Linked DNA regions of Homo sapiens: region 2 is linked to region 1. Evidence: promoter capture Hi-C in 16 types of primary human blood cells and fetal thymus (Javierre and others, 2016). All regions are on one chromosome and are shown on one strand. Each heading gives the region's core, a stretch centred on a gene start or on the middle of the fragment in contact. The rest is flanking DNA. Distances are from core to core; before and after follow the strand shown.

What was found. Contacts are between HindIII fragments. The CHiCAGO score rates a contact against its expected background, and 5 or more counts as called.
Region 2: a contact is called between a fragment that was not itself captured here and the fragment with the promoter of TMSB15A in region 1, in 4 of 17 cell types (erythroblasts, megakaryocytes, endothelial precursors and 1 more). The highest score is 6.4, in erythroblasts.

The regions. Positions count from the first base shown.
Region 1 is chrX:102,514,836-102,519,748 of GRCh38, reverse strand. It overlaps TMSB15A (thymosin beta 15A), which reads left to right and starts at 3,010. Exons shown (of 3, transcript NM_021992.3): 1 at 3,010-3,083; 2 at 4,569-4,685. The coding sequence starts at 4,586. The HindIII fragment of the contact is 1,876 bases long and covers 1,203-3,078 here.
Region 2 is chrX:102,895,673-102,900,585 of GRCh38, reverse strand. It overlaps ARMCX5-GPRASP2 (ARMCX5-GPRASP2 readthrough), which reads right to left. Exons shown (of 19, transcript NR_146584.3): 15 at 2,822-3,012. It overlaps LINC00630 (long intergenic non-protein coding RNA 630), which reads right to left. Exons shown (of 12, transcript NR_146589.1): 6 at 2,822-3,012. Among named protein-coding and RNA genes, the nearest start is that of RAB40AL, 39 kb to the left of the region's middle. The HindIII fragment of the contact is 5,900 bases long and covers 1-4,913 here.

The DNA of each region.
Region 1 (4,913 bases), core at 1,761-4,260:
AGAGAAGAGTTGGGATGGAGAGGTGGTATAGAGAGTTTGATGGGAGAGAAGCTATGAAGTAGTAAGTTAAAATAGTCAGAAAGTTAAGGACCAGAAGGTCTAAAGAATGAGTGCCTATTAATATTAAGAGTCTGATTTAAGTTAATAGTCATGAATTTAAATTGAAATGAGTCATGTAGTTATGTATTTTCCTTTGGCCAGATTTCTCTTTGTAGGCTCAGGCTTGTTGAAGTGTAGTTGAATTTAGCCAGGGTTGTTATTTTTCCTATGAAGCAATACAAACTGAAAAGGCAGGACAGTGGAGGGTATATGTAGATAAGTGATTGTAAAGACTGAACATGACATTTGAGCTAGGGAAGGAGGGGAGAGAATACAATAAAGGGAAGAAGAGATAGTGAAAATCTGATAAGATCAATGCATTGGAGATTCTGGGGAGACCAAAAGAAAGGTGCAAAATGAGTTAGCTGAAAAGAGAGGAGGTTATGGTCAGAAAGAGGGATGTTTAAAATTGAGATTATGGAGGGTTTCCCATAATTATAGTGACAAGGGCTAGACTATGGCTGTGTGAGTAACTGAGGTGGAGTTGAGGACGATGTTATGGGGGAGAAATGTTCAAGGAACTGAAAACGCCAGTTTGTCAGAATTATCATTCTTGAATTTACCAAGAATTAAAGCAGGACAACTACCTTTGAGAATGACTGTGTTGTAGGAGCTAAAATTTTTGAAAAATGAGTGGGGAATAGTTGAATTTTTATTTTTTATTTTTTATTTTTTGAGACAGAGTCTCACTCTGTCACCCAGGCTGGAGTGCAGTGGTGCTATCTCCGCTCACTGCAAGCTCCGCCTCCCGGGTTCACGCCATTCTCCTGCCTTAGCCTCCCGAGTAGCTGGGACTACAGGCTCCCACCACCACGCCCAGCTAATTTTTTTTGTATTTTTAGTACAGACGGGGTTTCACCGTGTTAGCCAGGATGGTCTCGATCTCCTGACCTTGTGATCCGCCCCCCTCGGCCTCCCACAGTGCTGGGATTACAGGCGTGAGCCACCGCGCCCGGCCGGGAATAGTTGAAATTTGTTATATGTCAACAACAAAGGCTAGTCAATGACATAAGTTGTCAAAAGCTGGAAGTTTTTAGGGGGGTAGGAGGGGAATTGCTATCTAAAGACAGCAATGAGAAGCAGCAAAGTCCCTTACATAAGCTTTAGGATCTGTGGTACAGTGGTGGTAGGAGTGAAAAATCATCTGCTCCTCATGAGTGGGCTTCAGGGGATCTGGAATCCTCATGGAAGGGGAAATTCAGAGAAGAGGCTTAAAATATGGAGGAATTACCGAGGGTGTATTGTGTTTTATTAGTAGAGGAGCGGTGAGAAAAGTGAACTAAAGAGCGGATGTGGACACAACCTTATGGCAGTTAGAATATAGGAGTTGAAGGGTGTCTTGGGGTGACTCGCACAAATGGAGATAAATGTCATCATTAGATAAGTTCTAATGATTCAAGGCAGACCAGGGTGGCAGGATTTTGAGGTTTGGGCTATGGAGGGGTGGTTGTCTGGAGCTTCCTGTCAACCCCAAGTGAAGTAAGGGGTGTGGTCTTAGCCTTGGATCACTTGTTCAAACAATGCTTCATTTTGCTCCTGGAAACAGAAATCACATTAATCTGTAATGACAGAAAAATACGCTGAAAGCTACACATCACATTCAGGATAGGACTACCCCTGGGCAAGTGGGAGGGGGAATGGAAATGAAGTGAAGGTCAAGGAAACCTCAATTTTTTCTGTAACGCTTTTAGTCCTTAAAAGAAAGACAAAGTAAGTATACCTAAATGTTAACAACATTGAAATCTGTGTAGTGAAAACACTGGTGTTTATTATATTTAATGCCAGGAACACTGTAGGTACTCAATGAATATTACTTGTTGAATGAGCATATCTTTCTGTTTTAAAAGTTTCTCCAACAAACATACACAATTCTCAAATTAACACAACGTGCTACAAAAGCAAAGAAAAGGGAATGAAGTAAGCTGGGGAAGCCTTGAGAAATCCTTGTGGAAAGAGTGACTTTCGATCTATATAGATCTATACCACCACACATGGGGTGCAAGCTAAAGACATAGTTCTACCTCCATCTTACCTTAATGCTCTAAGGTTCTGGGTGAGTATCCAGAAAATGATCTTGAACGTTTAGTCCTTTCAAGTAAATACCGAATCCTCAATTTTCTCTTCCAACAGACACTGGGTGGTGCTATTGTCCAAAACTTCCACCCATCACGTATTTATTACTTCAATCTATAGACATCTCCACAACCAATGTGTCTTGTGGGCCAAAGTGCTAGGGATTAGGGATATAAAGGTGAATAGCCTCAGTTGTTCTGTGATTATTATAAACTGCTATCGTGTTCAGTGGCCGAGAAAGCTGCGAATGTGACTTTTACATTTCATAGGAGAGCACTACTGTCACAGAAATGTCCAGTTGTAGGGGTGAATGGCCCTGAACCACCCACCCTCACTATGAGCACCCCTACTCCACGACCTGGCCAAGGATTAGAGCAGACAACACCGAGCCCCACTTCCAACCTACTGTTAGGTTATCACAGCATCCTTGGGCCCCAATGGCTATAAAAAGCCGAAAGAGCCTAAATACCGGTCATTCAGCTTGGACCTCGGAGTTCCAGATGTTCTAAGCTCACTGGGCGAGATGTGTCTGCTTATTGCAGAGGCCTCTGTTATTGTGAAAGAGTGAGTGTAGTCAGGATGAAGGGTATGTGGACCCTCAGGACTAAAGCAGTGGAAGAGGCCTGGGAGGTGGGGCCTGGGGAGGCGGGGTCGGCTCTGACTTCACCAAGCCCCGATCCTAGAGGAGAGGGTGGACGCGGGCTCTGTACACTCAAGCGGAGGAGGGGAAGGGCGGGGTGGGGGGGGGGGGGTGGCGAGCCCGGAAACCTTTGGCCAATCAGAGAGGGCTGGGGCGGGGCCTGCTGGGTGGCTTAGCACTGCAGGGCTCTGCGCGGGAACGCTAACCTGGTCCGGAGCGAGTCTGGGTCTCAGCCCCGCGAACAGCCTTTCACGAGTCTTCAAGCTTTCAGGTGAGGACCTGCGGCCTCGCAGGAGCCAGAGGACCATGGGGATGGGAAGGCGTCAGGGTTGCGAGGCGGGGGATGCCGCGCCTTCGGGAGCCAGAGGAGCCGAGGTTGGGGCTGGCGCTTCGCGTCTGCACCGCCGCCCGGGCGAGCGAGTCCGCGCCTTTGTCTTCCAGGGGGCCGCCTTCTGCGCTCGATGCCGAGCCCTCCTGGGGGCCGGTCCCTGGAAACAAGGCCCCGGGGTTGGGAGGCGGGGAGCGCGGACCCTTAAAGGGACCTGTCCGCAGTAGCTGCAGGTCGGAGGCTTAGAGGATGAGGAGTTTGGAGGCCGCCCGGAATGGGCCCCCTGGGGCTTGGTCCTCATTCCTTCTCCTCCCGTGGCCGTTAGGCTGGGCGCCAGAAAAAGCTAATAGTTATTTTTAAAAGTATGCAAACTGCTCTTGACAGACTGGCCTACGCACCCGGCCCTGCTATTATTTATTTGTTAGTTCCAGTTTTCCAGCTCTGAGCTTGGCGTCTAATGGCTTGGCAGAGGAGGGTCTTAGGGTAAACTCGACGGAATGGAGGCATGTTCGGCACTTCTGGCTGCTTGGGGGCCTCTCCATTCTACCCCAAGCACTAGACATAGTATCTTACTGCACGAGGGTGGGGCTGGGCTTGCGAATGAGAACTCTGCCCTCCGATTTCTGGGATATCCTATTGTCTCTTCTGGACAAACTCGGGACGCTTACAGGGCACCAGGCATTTCGTCAGGTCCACAGCCATGCACCTCTAAGCCTCATCTCTTTACCTCTCTCTTTGCAGAGAAAACATGGTGAAACAAGACTCGCTTTTATTTGGTTTATCCCATTCTGCTGAAGTCCTGGGTTTGATCCTAGTTAGCTGTCCCTTCTTACAACGTTTATACACCAATGCCACAAGGAGCTATTATGAGACGTGTATTGTAATGCCTTAATGTACTGTCATCTTTGGGCATTTAAAATAGAAAGAAATTAGTACAACTTATGCCACTCTTTTTTTTTTTGTGCTGCTCCCCGTCTCCTAAAAAAAAATGCCAAAAAACAAAAGTAATTTAATAGAAAGTGAAGATGCTCGAATAGTGCTATCTCCTGTTACAAAATCATTAACTGGTTAAAGCCAGTCTTTATTTTTTATTCTGTCCCTGTCTGCTCTTGTGCTTCTATCACCTCCATTTTACCCTTGCTGTGATTTTAAGAGTCAGACATATTGGCTCTGGGTTTCTGGAGAATCTTGGTTTCTGGTGCGTTCTGATCCAACGGCATTTACTGCATATCAAAATGGGCTAATGATGTGGAGTTAAAATTATTCTAACAAAAATATAACTTTTCTAAGATCTGTTGCTGTTTTTCTGTTGAAAATGAGCGGGTAGAATATACATTGATATGAAATATGAAAATTTTTGCTTGTGACCCCTTAGTCCGAAGACAGTTCTGCCAGGTAAGTTTTCTTAAAAATGTTTATTCTTTTCAGGCTATCTTCTAGTCAAGATGAGTGATAAGCCAGACTTGTCGGAAGTGGAGAAGTTTGACAGGTCAAAACTGAAGAAAACTAATACTGAAGAAAAAAATACTCTTCCCTCAAAGGAAAGTAAGTCATGGGGGGTTCTAGTGGAAACACACAGTAGAGAAAGTTAATAGGTTCAGTAAATAAACCTATCTTCTAGTAAATTTTTGCCACAAAGTAAGCAATAATTAGAGTACCATGGTGTTTAATGTAACAGTTAAAAACATCAAATAGTCATCTTCCTACTTGGGTTATATAAGTAGTTCTCACATAAGTCTTAATAGGAATGGGGGGGAAAACTAGTTTCTTGTT
Region 2 (4,913 bases), core at 1,479-3,978, 380 kb before region 1:
AACACTCCTTGGCTGTTGCTGGAAGACAGAATCTTAAGTGAGCATCAGGGCAGGTGAGAGGTGACTGAGAGAGGATGACGGCACAAGGGGCAGGTCTGGGCAGCTGTGCCCCTGGAGAGGGGATGAGTGGGAGGCAGTGGTAGAAGGACCAGGAAGCCTATACAGGGGTGGGGTAATGGAGAGTGAACGAACGCCCTGCTCTCTGGAAGGGACCCTCCTACAATGTGGAAACCTCTACCAACAGAGAAGGGAAGAGATGAATCAATGAATGCGATGTAGATTTGGGGACGACAGCAAATGGAACTGCTTTAATATACACGCGAATACTCCAAACAACTGGTATTTCAGTGAACAAACCATGTTATAACATCTGTTACTGTTTGTTAGATGTACTCCTTTTCCTTAAAAAAGAACAAATGTGAAGATGGCTGCGATGTCTCCTAGTGGCCAGAGCCAGGATTGCAACTCTGAGAGCTGACTGGTGAGTTCAGCAGGGGAAAGGGAGGGATGGAGGTTGGGAGGTTGATTAATGTGATCAGCCAGTTTTCTGGAATTTTTTACGTACCTACAGGAATCCCTCTGTATCCATCATTTTTCTGGGTTATAAAAAAGTACGTTTTCGGGGATATCTAAATCTGATATTGGAAGTACAGCATCAGTCTGAACTGGGGATAATGCTGCAATTGTGAACTGTATTTGAGGTGGTAGAGCTAGAGGAGCTAGAACACACACACACACACACTTGCGTGTGAGTCAATTCATTTTTTAAAAATCTACTTTATTTCCCCAGGAAATTGAATAAATGAATGCCTGAAGTAAGGAATATATGTGTACCATACTCTTGTCAATATGTTCACAGCATATTGTTTTTAATATTTCATCAAAATACTTTTTCCTGAATATAAAATGTAAAACAATATATAAAAACACATATATGAATTGAAATTAACCTGTATCTCTCACTGGAGCAGCTCCTAATCCCTGACCCCTAGTTGTCTGCTGTCCACAGAATGGTGCATACTGTGAAATGTGTCTCCACAAGTGAGATGCACACAAATATGTTCACCTACACACACACAGTCTGTTCCAAAGGTCGAATCACATCCTTATCTTCTTTTGCAACCTATTTTTTCCACTTTTCTTCTCAGGATTTATATTTACATCTTATTAGTTTTTGTGGTTTTGGCATAGTTAATGTGTTTATTGTTCATGTATCTAACTATTTGACTTCTCCACTGAAATTATTTGCCAAGCTCTTTGTTAGTGTGCTTCACAAAGCATGAATTCTAATCCAGTATCTCAGCTCTAGTTTGTACGGATTTTTCCAGAGTTTTTACGCTATTCTTAGTTTTTTTTAATTTAGAATTTTTCAATTTAAATTATCTTCTGACTTAAAACCACATGGATCACAATTTTTAAAAAAATGTTAAACTGCCTTGGAACATGTAATGGCAGTGCCCAAGGAGATTAGATCATTCCCGAGACCAGGAGGCACAGAGACAAACTGGAGAAAACTTTAGAATAATTCAGAATTACCTGCTAATCGAGACACAACAAAGGTATTTCCCTGATGTACAGAAACTTGCCTAAAGTACCCTGATCTGAATAATGGTCATAATTCAGTGGGTATTCTTGTGGGTAACTTGAATAGCTGTTGACATTAAAGAAGATGAAATACAGAGTGCATTTGCCTAAAGGAGTTGCGATGGTTAACACTGAGTGTAAACTTGATTGGATTGAAGGATACAAAGTATTAATCCCGGTTGTGTCTGTGTGGGTGTTGCCAAAAGAGATTAACATTTGAGTCAGTGGGCTGGGAAAGGCAGATCCACCCTTAATCTGGTGGGCACAATCTAATCAGCTTCCAGCAAATATAAAGCAGGCAGAAAAATGTGAAAAAGAGAGACGGGCCTAGCCTCCCAGCCTACATCTTTCTCCCGTGCTGGATGCTTCCTGCCCTCAAACATTGGACTCAAAGTTCTTCAGTTTTGGGACTCGGACTGACTCTCCTTGTTCCTCAGCTTGCAGACAGCCTATTGTGGGACCCTGTGACTGTGTAAGTTAATACTTAATAAACTCATATATATATACACACACATATATATGCTCACCTGTCTCAAGTACAACACTTGAGTTTCTGCCTGAGCCCACTCACCACTTCAGGCATCAGCCAACTCATGTGTCCCTACACACAGGTCTCTTGGCACAAAGAATGGGATCTCACCTCTGTCATCTTCACCCAGAAAAGTTGTTGAGTAAAGACTCATGGGGTTACAATAGCAGGTGGGTGAAATCTCACCATTTCTCAAGCCCAGAAACCCATCTTCTAAAAGGGAGGCTGCTCAGGGTACTCTAGGGAGGGTGAGGGATGGAATTTCATTCAAACCCTGCCACTTACCTGAAGAGGTGACTTAGGCTCTGTGAGCCTGAGGTTAGTCATCTGTGAAATGGGACTGACCATACCATCCTTACATAGCTGTCTGATGGGTATATGAGGAAACCTCTTGAGAGTATATGGCATGGGGTGGGACTTAAATGGCCTTTAAATGGGACACAGCACTAGGGGCTGGCTGAGCCTCAGTGCTAAGGCAGGCATTGTGAAAAATCATTTCTCATTGCTCCCCCTTATGAGAACACAGACATCTATTTGAAGAAAGCAAATGTCCCTGTGACATGCCTTGAGTTCAAAGTTTTGTAGACAGTAGTTTCTCTGCTTCGTGGGTGTTATCAGAAGCTCGTAAGAGCTGCCCAACATCATGCTTCTGAGATGACCCAAATTTAGTTCCCCACACTGGGAAGACAGGCATGTCTTTGAACTTACCTGCTGAGCTCAGAGACAGCAGCAGGGATGCAAGGTTTGGTGTTCGCCCAGTGGCTGCTCCTAGACTACTTGGTATGTTAATATATTTATTGGTATATTCTAGATCTGTCCCAAAATCACCAGTGCAGGGGTTTTCAGATCATGCATTAACCAGCCACATCGGATCAGAATTTCAGCCATCTGCTGCCTCCCTGAGAGACAAAAATCCAAGAGTTACTAGCATTTCTTCACACACAATGTCTATTCTTTCATTAGGTAATAACTAAATACCTATTGAGCTCAAACCCATTCTATTCCATCAGAGGTATCTCATGAGCTCCAATGTGATATAAAAGCATAAGGGAAATAAACATGTGGTCAACTTCAAGGGTTAATTCTGAGATAGCTTTTTTTTCACATTAGCTTTTAACTTGGTCAAGTTTCAAGAAATTGAAGATTTAAAAAAAAAATCTCTCCTTGGACCCCCTTATCACCCATTCAGCTACAGGATACAGTTCTCCCTGTCTCTGTCTCTCCCTCCCTTATCCTTCTTCTCCTTCATATTCGAAGTACCAAAAAGAGTTTTCTACATGCTCTGTTAACATTTTTCACTTCCCACTCATCATCCCACTGCCCTATGGCTTCTGTCTCTGGGATTGCCATGAACATTCTCTCCAAAGTCATAATCCACCCATTTCTTACTAGGTCCAGGTTTTGTATAAATACACTAACATAGGGCATATTACTTTTAATGAGCTCCTAAAGTATGTATGCTTGCAGACTGCTTCTTTCACCTAACAACAGAGCTTTCACAGTTTCCCAGGCTCTAGAGCATGATGCACTGGACATAAGTCCAAGCTGTCCCACTCCTTAACTGTTCAGTCTTAGGCAAAGTCATTATCCTCTCTGTCCCTCAGTTTTCCATTTGTAAAATTGAATTCTGCAATAGTATTTAACTCATAAGTGTGTTCTGGGCACTGAATGATCCAATACATTAAAAGCATATAGTACCTACGAAATGTTGGCACTTTTAAATACTTTTCACATGTCTTACTGGCATTCGTATCCCTGTAGCCATGAAAAAAAATTAGGGTATTGACCAATGTTTATTCATAATCAATGACATTTGGGGTATGATGTTTGTACATGTAATAGTTTCCTAGGGCCACCATAACAAATTATCATAAACTTTGCATATTTAAACAACAGCAATTTATTATGCCATGATTCCGATGTACAAAACCAAAGCCTGAAGTACAAAATCAAGGTGTAGGCAGGACTGCACTGCCTCCAAAGCCTTTAGGGGAGAATCCTTTCTTAGCTCTTCCAGCTTCTTGTGGCTCCTGCTTTATTTGATTTGAGGTGGCATAACTCAATCTCTGCCTCAATATTCACATGGCCTTCTTCCCTGGATGTGTCAAATCTCCCTCTGCTTTCTTTTATATAGATACCAGTCATTGGAGTTAGGCATCAACCTACATTCAGGATATTCCCTTCTGGAGATCTTTCACTTCATTATGTCTACATAGAACCTATTTCCAAATAAAGTTTGTGTGGGTTAGGATTGGGACATGTTTTGAGGGGGACACAATTCTACCCACTACAGTTAAATAAGCAAGTTACACTACTAAATGGAAGATAAAGTATCTTCTGTATGTACATGGACTGGCTGATCTCTGAGATGTTGAACTAGACCAAGCTGTGGCCCTTTGGAAAGGGAACCTGGATGGTAGTCTATTAACAGGTACACAACTACTATATAAAGGGTATTTTATATTTCATCTCATTTTGATTTCAACAATTCTATCCAGTACCAATAATTATGCCCATTAGTTGGATCAGGGAACACAAATTAAAAGACTGGTAACTTGATCTAGGGAAACTACCTTATAAACTATTGTTCCAGGATTCTAAACCTAGAATTATTCAAAACATTTTTTCCCTTCTGTCCTGTCAGCTAACATTTGATATAACTTCAAGCATATATATATATATATATATATTTTTTTTTTTTTTTTTTTGAGATGGAGTCTTGCTCTGTCACCCAGGCTGGAGTGCAGTGGCATGATCTTGGCTTATTGCAGCCTCTTCCTCCCAGGTTCAAGCGATTCTC